4 separate regions of the Homo sapiens genome follow, and all the other regions are linked to region 2. Evidence: promoter capture Hi-C in 16 types of primary human blood cells and fetal thymus (Javierre and others, 2016). All regions are on one chromosome and are shown on one strand. The core of a region is centred on a gene start or on the middle of the fragment in contact, and the rest is flanking DNA. Distances in the headings are between cores, read along the strand shown.

Evidence for each region. Contacts are between HindIII fragments. The CHiCAGO score rates a contact against its expected background, and 5 or more counts as called.
Region 1: a contact is called between a fragment that was not itself captured here and the fragment with the promoter of PHIP in region 2, in 3 of 17 cell types (total B cells, total CD8 T cells and fetal thymus). The highest score is 11.1, in total B cells.
Region 3: a contact is called between a fragment that was not itself captured here and the fragment with the promoter of PHIP in region 2, in 1 of 17 cell types (total CD8 T cells). The highest score is 5.3, in total CD8 T cells.
Region 4: a contact is called between the fragment with the promoter of CFAP206 here and the fragment with the promoter of PHIP in region 2, in 2 of 17 cell types (total CD8 T cells and activated CD4 T cells). The highest score is 14.5, in total CD8 T cells.

What each region holds. Positions count from the first base shown.
Region 1 is chr6:73,654,933-73,657,777 of GRCh38, reverse strand. No RefSeq gene overlaps it. Among named protein-coding and RNA genes, the nearest start is that of SLC17A5, 2.4 kb to the right of the region's middle. RefSeq lists an enhancer at 2,582-2,671. The HindIII fragment of the contact is 2,167 bases long and covers 464-2,630 here.
Region 2 is chr6:79,076,806-79,080,082 of GRCh38, reverse strand. PHIP (PHIP subunit of CUL4-Ring ligase complex) reads left to right here and starts at 1,829. Exons shown (of 40, transcript NM_017934.7): 1 at 1,829-2,054; 2 at 2,170-2,228; 3 at 2,354-2,383; 4 at 2,576-2,635. The coding sequence starts at 2,015. It overlaps LOC124901346 (a long non-coding RNA gene), which reads right to left. Exons shown (of 2, transcript XR_007059652.1): 2 at 2,817-3,277. RefSeq lists an enhancer at 1,402-1,451 and silencers at 1,572-1,811, 1,942-2,111, 2,611-3,110. The HindIII fragment of the contact is 4,735 bases long and covers 904-3,277 here.
Region 3 is chr6:73,515,866-73,518,748 of GRCh38, reverse strand. It overlaps EEF1A1 (eukaryotic translation elongation factor 1 alpha 1), which reads left to right. Exons shown (of 8, transcript NM_001402.6): 5 at 1-51; 6 at 139-395; 7 at 485-719; 8 at 815-2,883. The coding sequence ends at 939. Among named protein-coding and RNA genes, the nearest start is that of EEF1A1, 3.7 kb to the left of the region's middle. The HindIII fragment of the contact is 197 bases long and covers 1,515-1,711 here.
Region 4 is chr6:87,406,226-87,409,334 of GRCh38, reverse strand. CFAP206 (cilia and flagella associated protein 206) reads right to left here and starts at 1,363. Exons shown (of 13, transcript NM_001031743.3): 1 at 1,246-1,363. The HindIII fragment of the contact is 4,290 bases long and covers 1-2,105 here.

The DNA of each region.
Region 1 (2,845 bases), core at 298-2,797, 5.4 Mb after region 2:
AGGCAGGAGAATCGCTTGAACCCAGGAGGTTGCAGTGAACTGAGATTGCACCACTGCACTCCAGCCTGAGCAACAAGAGTGAAACTCTGTCTCAAAATAATAATAATAATAAATAAATAACACCAACAATGATCTTTTATGGTAGTGTGCAATCAGGAAATAAATGCCAGATATAAGGGGGAAAAAATGTGTCATCATACTTTTTTTTAATCTTCTTGGGGCCAGGCACAGTGGTTCACACCTATCATATCAATACTTTGGAAGGTCAAGGCAGGAGGACTGCTTGAGCCCAGCCTGGGCGTCACAGGGAGGCCCTGTCTCTAACAAAAATGTTTTTAAATTAGCAGGGCGTGGTGGCACATGCCTGTGGTCTCAGCTACCAGGGAGGCTGAGGTAGGAGGATCACTTGAGCCCAGGAGGTGGAGCCTACAGGGAGCCGTGATCACACCTCTGCACTCAAGCTTAGGTGACAGAGTAAGATCCTGTCTCAAAATCTTCTTGGGAAGATTATAAAAACAAAAACCAAAGTACCTCCTCTGAACCTAGAATCAATGACACTGCAATAGGAAGAAGTACACCCAATGCTCAGATGTTAGTTTGTAATATCATTCTCCTTATAGAAATGGCAGGGGTAGAGAATACACAAGATGAGCCTGGAACATCTTGTTGTACCAGAAAGTAAGGGAATGCTCAAAAAACACAACAATGGAGGCATGCAAGACACAAGAGCCAACTGAAAGAGCTCTTAGTCACCAAAGCTGGAACAATTTGAGCAACAAAATAAATAACATAGTGTTGGGAGTATAACCCAAAGTATAAAATAATAACCATGACATCATACTAATAAAAATAAATGATTGAATAAGTAAATAAATGTAGGAGAATAAACAAATCTCCCAAACAAAAGAATTCTTCCCCTGAAACTGGTGGAGTATAGATAACTCCCCACCCCTTAAGTGAAGGCTGCACATACTGATTTCCTTCCAAAGAGAAAAGTAAGGCCGGGGGAAAAGAGTTAACTTCACAGTGAAAACACCTGACAAACACAACCTCAGGCATGCAATGAGGCTTACCATCACTACTGATAAACATCAGTGATAAATAAGTTGACAGCACATTCCCTTGACATTACATGATGAGAATGGCCCTTTACCTCTATGACCTTTCCCTCAAAAATCCATAACCCCAGTCTAATTATAAGAAAAACATTCAGGCCGGGGGTGGTGGTTCATGCCTGTAATCCCAGCACTTTGGGAGGCTGAGGCAGGTGGAGGCTGAGGCAGGAGGTCAGGAGATGGAGACCATCCTGGCTAACATGGTGAAACCCCATCTCTACTAAAAATACAAAAAATTAGCCGGGCGTGGTGGCATGCACCTATAGTCCCAGCTACTCGGGACGTTGAGGCAGGAGAATCGCTTGAACCTGGGAGGTGGAGGCTGCAGTGAGCCGAGATCGTGCCACTGCACTCTAGCCTGGACGACAGAGCGTGACCTCGTCTCAAAAAAAAATTCGACAACCCAAATTAAGACACTTTCTACAAAACCTACCAGTACTCTACAAAACTGTCAAGGTCAGCAAAAGCAATGAAAGTCAGGAACTGTCGATCTAGAGGAGCCTAAGGAGACATGTAATGTGGCATCCTGGATGAGATCCTGGGACCGAAAAAGGATATTAGGTAAAAATTAAAGAAACGCAAATTAAGTATGAACTTCAGTTAATAATTATCTATACTGGCTCGTTAGTTATGATATATGCATGATACTAATGTAAGATCTTAATAATAGGTCAAACTAAGCAAAGGGTATGGAGAACTCACTGTACTATCTTTGCAACGTTTATGTAAACCTAAAATTTCTAAAATAAAAAATATTAAAAAAAAGAATTCCTCTGGTTTGAAGTCTTTCAAGTCTGTTGCAACTATATTCCCTGGCCCAAGTTATCTATAACCTTGGTCATCTGGGAGCTTGTTAGCAATACAGAATCTCAGGCACATCCCAGATGTACTGGGCTTCTCAGAGAAACAGCCCCAATTGGGTAGTTTGGGTAATAAAGTTTTGGCTTTCACAATATAGGCTGGCCAACTCGACCCAAAACAGATGATGGTGCACATGCCTGGAGACCCAGGAGGACCTGTGGTGCAGATGAAGTCTGAGGACACTCTGCTGGAGAAGTCTCCCTTGCTTGGGCAAGAGAAGTGGGGGAGTCGGATTTTTTATTCTAGATAGGCCTTCAACTGATTGAAGGAAGCCCACCCAGATTATGGAAGGCAGCCATCTTTACCCAGAGTTCAATGATTTTAGTGTTAACCTCATCCAAAGACAACCAGCAAGTTAACACATAAAATTAACCATCACACCAGATCTGCTGAATCTGAATCTACATTTTAAAAGGATTTGCCAGGTGACTCTGCATAATCCAGTTTGAAAATTGCATTTTTCTACAACCCTTAGAGAGTGTAAAAATCTACATGGTAATTCAGTAACTCAGAAACAAGGCTTGATTTGCTGCTTTAACTTGAGAACTTTTCTAGCATTTACTGATCTGGAGGTAGGGATGCCTACAGAAATCCTCGCCCTCCCTTCTAGGTAAAGGACCCTCCCCTTTGTTCTCACGTGAACCTCACTAAGCTTCTAACCTGGTTTACTGAATTAGTGGCTTGTGGGTCTTCCCTGTCTACACCAAACTCTCCGAGAGCATCTACATCTTATTTTCTACCTCCACAGAGACAGCCTTTATTGGCGGATCCAGATCTGCCCTGCCAAGGCAAGCTGGGTTTTCCTAGTTTCACTTTCAGAGTCCGCAAATGCTAGCACAATCTATCCAAATTCTATCGTGGAGATAAAG
Region 2 (3,277 bases), core at 580-3,079:
CAGTTACAAAAGGCAATTTTATATCCTATTATTCCAAAGGGTTTGAGGCTTTATTTCTTCTTCCTCATATGTATGATGATTTCTGGATGTTTTAGTATAGGGCATCACACTGGTGCAGCACACTTGGGCTTACAGTGCAGCCCAAGGCATTTGCAGCAAGTATTTCCCACTAGGAATGTAAGGAGCTAGGAGGTTACAAGGCTTGAGGAAACAATCTAGAAAACCACAATACAGCTTGTTGGTCCTTTCCCCACAAATAACCTTTTTAAACCAGACCCATAAAATGCAGTTTATTATCTAACATTTTTAAGGAGAATCTTTTGTTAAATGTTAACAAAAGAACGACTATCCAAATTCCCTTTAAAATGCAATCCTTAAAAAATATTGAACTCTCAAGTCTTTTTGGAAAGTGCTTAAATCATCTGGAGATAAATATCATTTGGTGTCCTTGTTTTCTAACAAATGGCTTTTTCTATTGTTTCCATTAATTTCACCCATATTCGTTTTTTTAAAAACAAGGCCCTTATCCTCATCAGCAAAACACAGATGTATGATTTAGCATATAAAATCGGTAATTACATACTAATTTACGAAAGATTTTTTTTTCTCCTTTTCGTCAGTTTTCAAGAAGTCTTCCCGTGATTAACTGTAAACAGGAATGGTTTACATCTCAAATTAGAAGCCATTAATTAGCATGACGAAGTCAACTGCAAGATACACAGATTATTTAAATTATTTAATCACTATTCACCTTGGCTAAACTGTAGTATACTCTTTCAATATCCTTAGGCAGGTTATCGATCTGTCACTAAATTACCTCCAGATCAGTTAGACATGAATATTAGCGTCCTTTCCTTTCCCTCAGGTTTACATTCTCCCTTCTCGTAAACACTTAAAAAAGCTTTAAGGTTCTTTAATTCCAAATACCTAATTAGCCATCACTAGCCTTTTTGTAATAAGGAAAAAGAGTATCTGAAGTACAAATCAAGAGTTCGCTTTGCCCGTTTAACAATAAAAAACATTTAAAAAACGTACGCCAAAGGCAATGGCAGTAATAAAAGAAATATGCAGAGGTGGCTTCAGCAAATAACGGGTTTGCAAAACGCAAGTGCTTAACAAAAAGCAGCCCAAACCTCTATTGCAATATACAGCACTCCAATAAATTACACAACACTTGCATAGGCTGCAGAAATAACGCAGGACAAGACTTACACAGATGCCAATCCGCAGCATTTATACACATGCACATGGCAAGAGACAGAAACCAAACACTATCATTCAACTCGGGAAGGGTAGCGCGATCCCGAGCTTGCCCAGCGTGAGAGTGCTCTCTGCGTGTGTGTCTGTGTACGCGCGTGAGTGAGACCCATCCTTGGGGCATTTCCCCTCTCTGGGCAGTTTTGCTTCATTTGTTTCATATTTCTGCTACATAGAAACTAACTTCCATCTCAGCTCCAGCCAGCGCCGCTGAATAGAGCCTGTGCTGCGGCTCCGTGTGCGTCAGATCCCTCCGCGGAACCGTCCCCGGCCCCCTCCCTGCCACTATCGGCCTCCACAGAGAAAGCGCCTTCCAGCCAACCGGCGGCTTGGGCTCCGACATCTTCTCCGACTGGAAATAAATAAATAAATCGCACGCCCTGCGGGGAGGAGCGGGTGGGGGTCTCACTGTGCCGCGTGCGGAGCGCTGGGGACGAGGGGTCGGAGGCACTCCTTTTTTAGCGCCGGGGGGCGGGGGCGCGGGCCAGAGCCGGGGCCGAGCCCTGGGCCGCGAAGGCGGCGGACTCCTTTCTGCGGCGGAGGGATCCGCGGCGGAGGCGGCCACGGCCGTAGTCGCTGCCTGAGAGTTGTTGTTTCCTCCTCCTCCTCCTCCGCCTCCGCCGCCGTTGCTTGAATGGTGGAGCCGAAGCTCGGCTCGTGAACACACACTGACAGCTATAGGGCAGGCGGCGGCACCGTCCCCGCTTCCCCTCGGCGGCGGGGTGTCCCGTCGGCGGCCCTGAAGTGACCCATAAACATGTCTTGTGAGAGGAAAGGCCTCTCGGAGCTGCGATCGGGTAAGTCGGGGGGCTGCCGGGGCCGCTGGCACCGGGCGATTCCGCCCGCGGTCCCCCGCCCCCCGCCGCCCGACCGCTCAGCCTGTGTGTCTCCCCGTCCCTCTCTCCCGCGCAGAGCTCTACTTCCTCATCGCCCGGTTCCTGGAAGATGGACCCTGTCAGCAGGCGGCTCAGGTACGGCGGCGCGCGGCGCGGGCCGGGCCGGCGCTCGCCGCTCGCGGGCGTGGGGGAGGGAGGCGGCGGCGGCGGGGCCGCGGCCCGGGGCGCGGGGCTCAGCTCTCCCCGCTTTGTTGTTGCAGGTGCTGATCCGCGAGGTGGCCGAGAAGGAGGTAAGGGCGGCGGCGGCCCGGCGCGTCCCGCCGCCGCGCGGCCGCCTCTGGGCCGCTGCGCCGCCGCTGCCGCCGCCGGCAGGGCGCGGGGCGCGGGGCTCGGGGTCCCCGCCGGGGCGCGGGGCGGGCGGGGGAGGGGAGCGGGCGGGTAGGGGCCGGGGGCCGGGCTCACGGGGTGTCCTCTCCCCGCAGCTGCTGCCCCGGCGCACCGACTGGACCGGGAAGGAGCATCCCAGGACCTACCAGAATCTGGTGAGACATTCACGTCGCAGAGCAAAGAAACTTTTCCCTGAGTCGAATAAAAATTGAATTTCCCGCAATTTTTTACAGAGACAAAAACTTGGCCCTAGAACGTGAAAGCTCCAAAGGCCATGGGGAGGGTTGGGAGGCCGGCGCGGGGTCTGCGGGGGCCAGTGGCCGGGGGTACTCGTACTTCGGGGCCGCAGGGGCTGCGGACAATTTATTTGTGATATTTTGTTAATGTGCTAGAAATAAAGATACGTCATGAGTGTTGTGCAGTGCAAGGCCGGAGGAGGAGGGGCCGGCGCGCGCGTCCGTGCGGGCGCGGGGGCGCGCGAGAGTCGGCGGCGGCGGGAGCGGCGCGAAGAGGGAGAGCGCGCTCGCTCGTTCGCTTGCTCGCTCTGCACGCGCGGCCGGCTCGGCTTTCTCCTGCCCTACACAATAGCTGGTGACTAACTGCTCCGAAGTGGCATTAGCATTTCACAAGCAGGCTATCCAGCCGCTGCGGTACCGTGGCAAGACATTATTTTTTCCCCCTCTGTCGTTTATTTTGTTTTCCTTAAATTCAGTCCTGGGTTTTTTGTTGGAAGGATTCTGATGTGTGATGATAGTTGGTCAGTGCTTCGTCTTGCATTTACTAAAACACATCTTTGC
Region 3 (2,883 bases), core at 364-2,863, 5.6 Mb after region 2:
CAACTGACAAGCCCTTGCGCCTGCCTCTCCAGGATGTCTACAAAATTGGTGGTAAGTTGGCTGTAAACAAAGTTGAATTTGAGTTGATAGAGTACTGTCTGCCTTCATAGGTATTTAGTATGCTGTAAATATTTTTAGGTATTGGTACTGTTCCTGTTGGCCGAGTGGAGACTGGTGTTCTCAAACCCGGTATGGTGGTCACCTTTGCTCCAGTCAACGTTACAACGGAAGTAAAATCTGTCGAAATGCACCATGAAGCTTTGAGTGAAGCTCTTCCTGGGGACAATGTGGGCTTCAATGTCAAGAATGTGTCTGTCAAGGATGTTCGTCGTGGCAACGTTGCTGGTGACAGCAAAAATGACCCACCAATGGAAGCAGCTGGCTTCACTGCTCAGGTAACAATTTAAAGTAACATTAACTTATTGCAGAGGCTAAAGTCATTTGAGACTTTGGATTTGCACTGAATGCAAATCTTTTTTCCAAGGTGATTATCCTGAACCATCCAGGCCAAATAAGCGCCGGCTATGCCCCTGTATTGGATTGCCACACGGCTCACATTGCATGCAAGTTTGCTGAGCTGAAGGAAAAGATTGATCGCCGTTCTGGTAAAAAGCTGGAAGATGGCCCTAAATTCTTGAAGTCTGGTGATGCTGCCATTGTTGATATGGTTCCTGGCAAGCCCATGTGTGTTGAGAGCTTCTCAGACTATCCACCTTTGGGTAAGGATGACTACTTAAATGTAAAAAAGTTGTGTTAAAGATGAAAAATACAACTGAACAGTACTTTGGGTAATAATTAACTTTTTTTTTAATAGGTCGCTTTGCTGTTCGTGATATGAGACAGACAGTTGCGGTGGGTGTCATCAAAGCAGTGGACAAGAAGGCTGCTGGAGCTGGCAAGGTCACCAAGTCTGCCCAGAAAGCTCAGAAGGCTAAATGAATATTATCCCTAATACCTGCCACCCCACTCTTAATCAGTGGTGGAAGAACGGTCTCAGAACTGTTTGTTTCAATTGGCCATTTAAGTTTAGTAGTAAAAGACTGGTTAATGATAACAATGCATCGTAAAACCTTCAGAAGGAAAGGAGAATGTTTTGTGGACCACTTTGGTTTTCTTTTTTGCGTGTGGCAGTTTTAAGTTATTAGTTTTTAAAATCAGTACTTTTTAATGGAAACAACTTGACCAAAAATTTGTCACAGAATTTTGAGACCCATTAAAAAAGTTAAATGAGAAACCTGTGTGTTCCTTTGGTCAACACCGAGACATTTAGGTGAAAGACATCTAATTCTGGTTTTACGAATCTGGAAACTTCTTGAAAATGTAATTCTTGAGTTAACACTTCTGGGTGGAGAATAGGGTTGTTTTCCCCCCACATAATTGGAAGGGGAAGGAATATCATTTAAAGCTATGGGAGGGTTGCTTTGATTACAACACTGGAGAGAAATGCAGCATGTTGCTGATTGCCTGTCACTAAAACAGGCCAAAAACTGAGTCCTTGTGTTGCATAGAAAGCTTCATGTTGCTAAACCAATGTTAAGTGAATCTTTGGAAACAAAATGTTTCCAAATTACTGGGATGTGCATGTTGAAACGTGGGTTAAAATGACTGGGCAGTGAAAGTTGACTATTTGCCATGACATAAGAAATAAGTGTAGTGGCTAGTGTACACCCTATGAGTGGAAGGGTCCATTTTGAAGTCAGTGGAGTAAGCTTTATGCCAGTTTGATGGTTTCACAAGTTCTATTGAGTGCTATTCAGAATAGGAACAAGGTTCTAATAGAAAAAGATGGCAATTTGAAGTAGCTATAAAATTAGACTAATCTACATTGCTTTTCTCCTGCAGAGTCTAATACCTTTTATGCTTTGATAATTAGCAGTTTGTCTACTTGGTCACTAGGAATGAAACTACATGGTAATAGGCTTAACAGGTGTAATAGCCCACTTACTCCTGAATCTTTAAGCATTTGTGCATTTGAAAAATGCTTTTCGCGATCTTCCTGCTGGGATTACAGGCATGAGCCACTGTGCCTGACCTCCCATATGTAAAAGTGTCTAAAGGTTTTTTTTTGGTTATAAAAGGAAAATTTTTGCTTAAGTTTGAAGGATAGGTAAAATTAAAGGACATGCTTTCTGTTTGTGTGATGGTTTTTAAAAATTTTTTTTAAGATGGAGTTCTTGTTGCCCAGGCTAGAATGCAATGGCAAAATCTCACTGCAATCTCCTCCTCCTGGGTTCAAGCAATTCTCCTACTTCAGCCTCCCAAGTAGCTGGGATTACAGGCATGTGCTAATTTGGTGTTTTTAATAGAGATGAGGTTTTTCCATGTTGGTCAGGCTGGTCTCAAACTCCTGACCTTAGGTGATCGCCTCGGCCTCCTAAAGTGCTGGAATTACAGGCATGAGCCACCATGCCTGGCCAGGACATGTGTTCTTAAGGACATGCTAAGCAGGAGTTAAAGCAGCCCAAGAGATAAGGCCTCTTAAAGTGACTGGCAATGTGTATTGCTCAAGATTCAAAGGTACTTGAATTGGCCATAGACAAGTCTGTAATGAAGTGTTATCGTTTTCCCTCATCTGAGTCTGAATTAGATAAAATGCCTTCCCATCAGCCAGTGCTCTGAGGTATCAAGTCTAAATTGAACTAGAGATTTTTGTCCTTAGTTTCTTTGCTATCTAATGTTTACACAAGTAAATAGTCTAAGATTTGCTGGATGACAGAAAAAACAGGTAAGGCCTTTAATAGATGGCCAATAGATGCCCTGATAATGAAAGTTGACACCTGTAAGATTTACCAGTAGAGAATTCTTGACATGCAAGGAAGCAAGATTTAACTGAAAAATTGTTCCCACTGGAAGCAGGAATGAGTCAGTTTACTTGCATATACT
Region 4 (3,109 bases), core at 114-2,613, 8.3 Mb before region 2:
GGCTGAGGCAGGAGAATCGTTTGAACCCGGGAGGCGGAGGTTGCGGTGCCATTGCACTCCAGCCTGGGCAACAAGAGCGAAACTGTGTCTCAGGAAAAAAAAAAAAAGGCTAAGCAGTATTTGTAGGGGAGGGAGGTAAAATTAATGAGAAACCCAAGAGTACAGCTTTAAAAGGAGAAATGCTTATTCCACCACATTCATTAAATGACCCTTCAGAACTGTACTAGAATCTTGGAAAACAATTCTTGCTCAGATCATTAAAATGATCTTTTCCGCACATCTAAAATAGAGTTCAGACTCTCGATAAAAAAAAGCATTTACTATAAGGAAAAAGTGGTAGGTTTTGATCGAGTTTTCTGATTTTCCTGAATATCAGTAACTAAGCACAATGGAAGTTGGCATGTAGAGTATAACAAAGGCAATATCAGGTAGATAAAGCCAACTCCTCAGCATTATTAGCTTTCCAATGGATGAGTACGAAGCACTAGGCATTTTGTCCAGTGAAACCAGATTGCCTGGATTCCATGGTGACCCGACCACTGTCCAGCTGTGAGACCTTGGGCACTTGCTTCACTTCTTTCCAGAGGTGTGAGGACTAAATTAGTCCTGTTTTTAGTGGTTACAACAGTGCGCGGCTTAAGGGAATCGCTTAAAACAGCTTATAATCAGTACTCCAAGATCACAGGCAGCGCATGCGCAAGTGCCAGTCAGTGGGAGAGTCCGTCGCGCTCCGGATCTGTGTGCGCGCTCCGGATCTGTGTGCGCGCTCCGGATCTGTGTGCGCGCTCCGGATCTGTGTGCGCGCTCCGGATCTGTGTGCGCGCTCCGGATCTGTGTGCGCGCTCCGGATCTGTGTGCGCGCTCCGGATCTGTGTGCGCATGCGCGCCGCTGCCGGGTCGCTAGGGACGCGGCTCAGCACCTTCCCTGCACCCACCCTCCAATTACTAAGTCTCCCGAGGTCCGGCTTCTGGGGTAGCCAGTGGAGCGAAACAGAAGCGGGAGGCCTCAGGCACCCGCGCAAAGGCTAGAGGGCAGCCCTGCAGCCCTGGGGTGGCGCCTCCGGCAGGAATGGACCGCTGTTCCAGCTCTGCGGCGGCGCAGCCTAAAGGATCGAGACTGAGAGCTAAGTCTCGACGAGGCAGGACGCGGTCCTCCAGCCGCCCGAGCTCCGCCAGCCGCCCCAAGCTCGCCGCCTGGCGGGGTACGCCTCCGGGTCAAGGGCGCGGAGCCCCGAGTAGGCTGACCTGGATCGGAATCGACAGCAGGAGCCGTGTCTGTCTGCTTCTGTCCTGGGGCCCTCACCGCGACGGTCGGAGCAGTTGGGCGCTCGCAGCCACCGCCGCGTAACCATGGAGATGGAAGGCTCCGGACCAGAGGGGGCGGGGCCAGGTGGGGGTGGGGCGGGGTCCCACTTTGAGGGTCTTTCCCCCAAAAGATGGGCTGGAAAAACTTTAAAAACAAAGGAATTTCAGGCAGAGACATCTTAACCTCCGTGGTTAAGACTGTGAAACACAAGTTCTCGTAAATAAGGATATTAACTTGCTAGCGTGGGAATGATGAGGCGGCTTTGAAAGCGGGGTGGGGGAGAGGGAGGAGCCAGTTGGAGAGGCTGGGAAAACGGAAGGGCTGTATCCTGGGCAAATAGAGTTCTTGTAAAAGTATCTAGTTTTAAAAAACAAAAGTAAAAAGTATCGAGGTTTTATTTCATGTCCCGTTGTTCAAAGGAAGTCTGTAACAGAACGCTCCAAGATGCCCGAAGAGAAAACTGCTCATTCAAGAAGCACATGATAAGAACACATTAGTGTCCGAGTCAAAATAATGAGGTTTTATCCCTTAACGATAATATCGTTAGGCCCACCTTCAGACGTGAAAGTGTGAAAAAGGATTAAATACTCATTAGAAGGAGAGCATCAAACAACAAGGTTTTATTTTTAAACAGTAATTTTTCTCAAACTGCAAACAAATATGCAGAATATGCTTTGCTTAAGGACATTCCCTGATTACTAGGAAATGAATCAACACAAAAACTCAAGAATATACATCATAATATAACACAATTTTATTTCCGCCTTCTAGAAAATGTTCCCGGAATGTGGAAGAAGCTTGTGTAAAAATAGATGTTCAGAGTAACAAGATTTATAATAGCACAGCCTTAGAAATCTAAACACGTTATTTAAGTAAAATATCAGGCAGGTATTTAAAATTATGTTAACAAAAACCTTGTGTTTGTCTTATATTTGTTAAAAGCCAAATGCGAAATTTTTATATAATATGACTTAAACTATATTGACATACATATAATGCACAAAAAGTGTAGGTCAGTTTTTCAAAATCACAGCAAGCAATTAGATCTAAGGATGGAATTATAGGTAAATTACTTTTATTTCTTTATACTTTTCTGTTTTTTCTAGATTTTTCCATAATGAGTATATATTGTCTTATGATCTATAAAACAAAATTTAAAAATACAAGGGAGATGAGACTGGCTATTTGTAGAGAATGAACCCAATTTAGATATACAAATATACTGTAAGTATACAAGGTAAAGCAACCAAAGGACGGTGAGATAGCAAAATTTTAACAGTGGTTGTAACTTTGTAATGGCTTATGGCTGATTTGTCTTCTTTATACTTTAAGATAGCTACCAAAATGTCTTCCATGAGCATATATTATATATTAGAATATTAAATATCTTTTAAGATGGTAAGAATAATACCATCATATTAAGTATAGTTTTAAACTAATGGGCAAATCCTGGCACAAATACTCCCTGAAGTATGTTTGATACTGTTAATTCCTACTTAATGTCAATGTTTTCTTCTCTTTCTGTTACTAATTTAACCCTGTGTTGGGAATGACAGTGTTCTCTTTTAAAAAAAAAAATCTCTCAACCTCTTTCTCAGTGAGAGTGGCCTGTGACATGGTCTAGCCAATGAGATGTAAGTGTAATCACTGGATGAGGTGTCAGGGAAAGCACTTCCATTTTATGTCTATTGCCTTTCCTTTTCTTTCTACTTGAAATGAGAATATGCTGGCTGAAGCTCCAGCAGCCTTGCTGTGAACATAAACATGAGGGTCACATCTTAAGGATGGTGGAACAAAAATGAA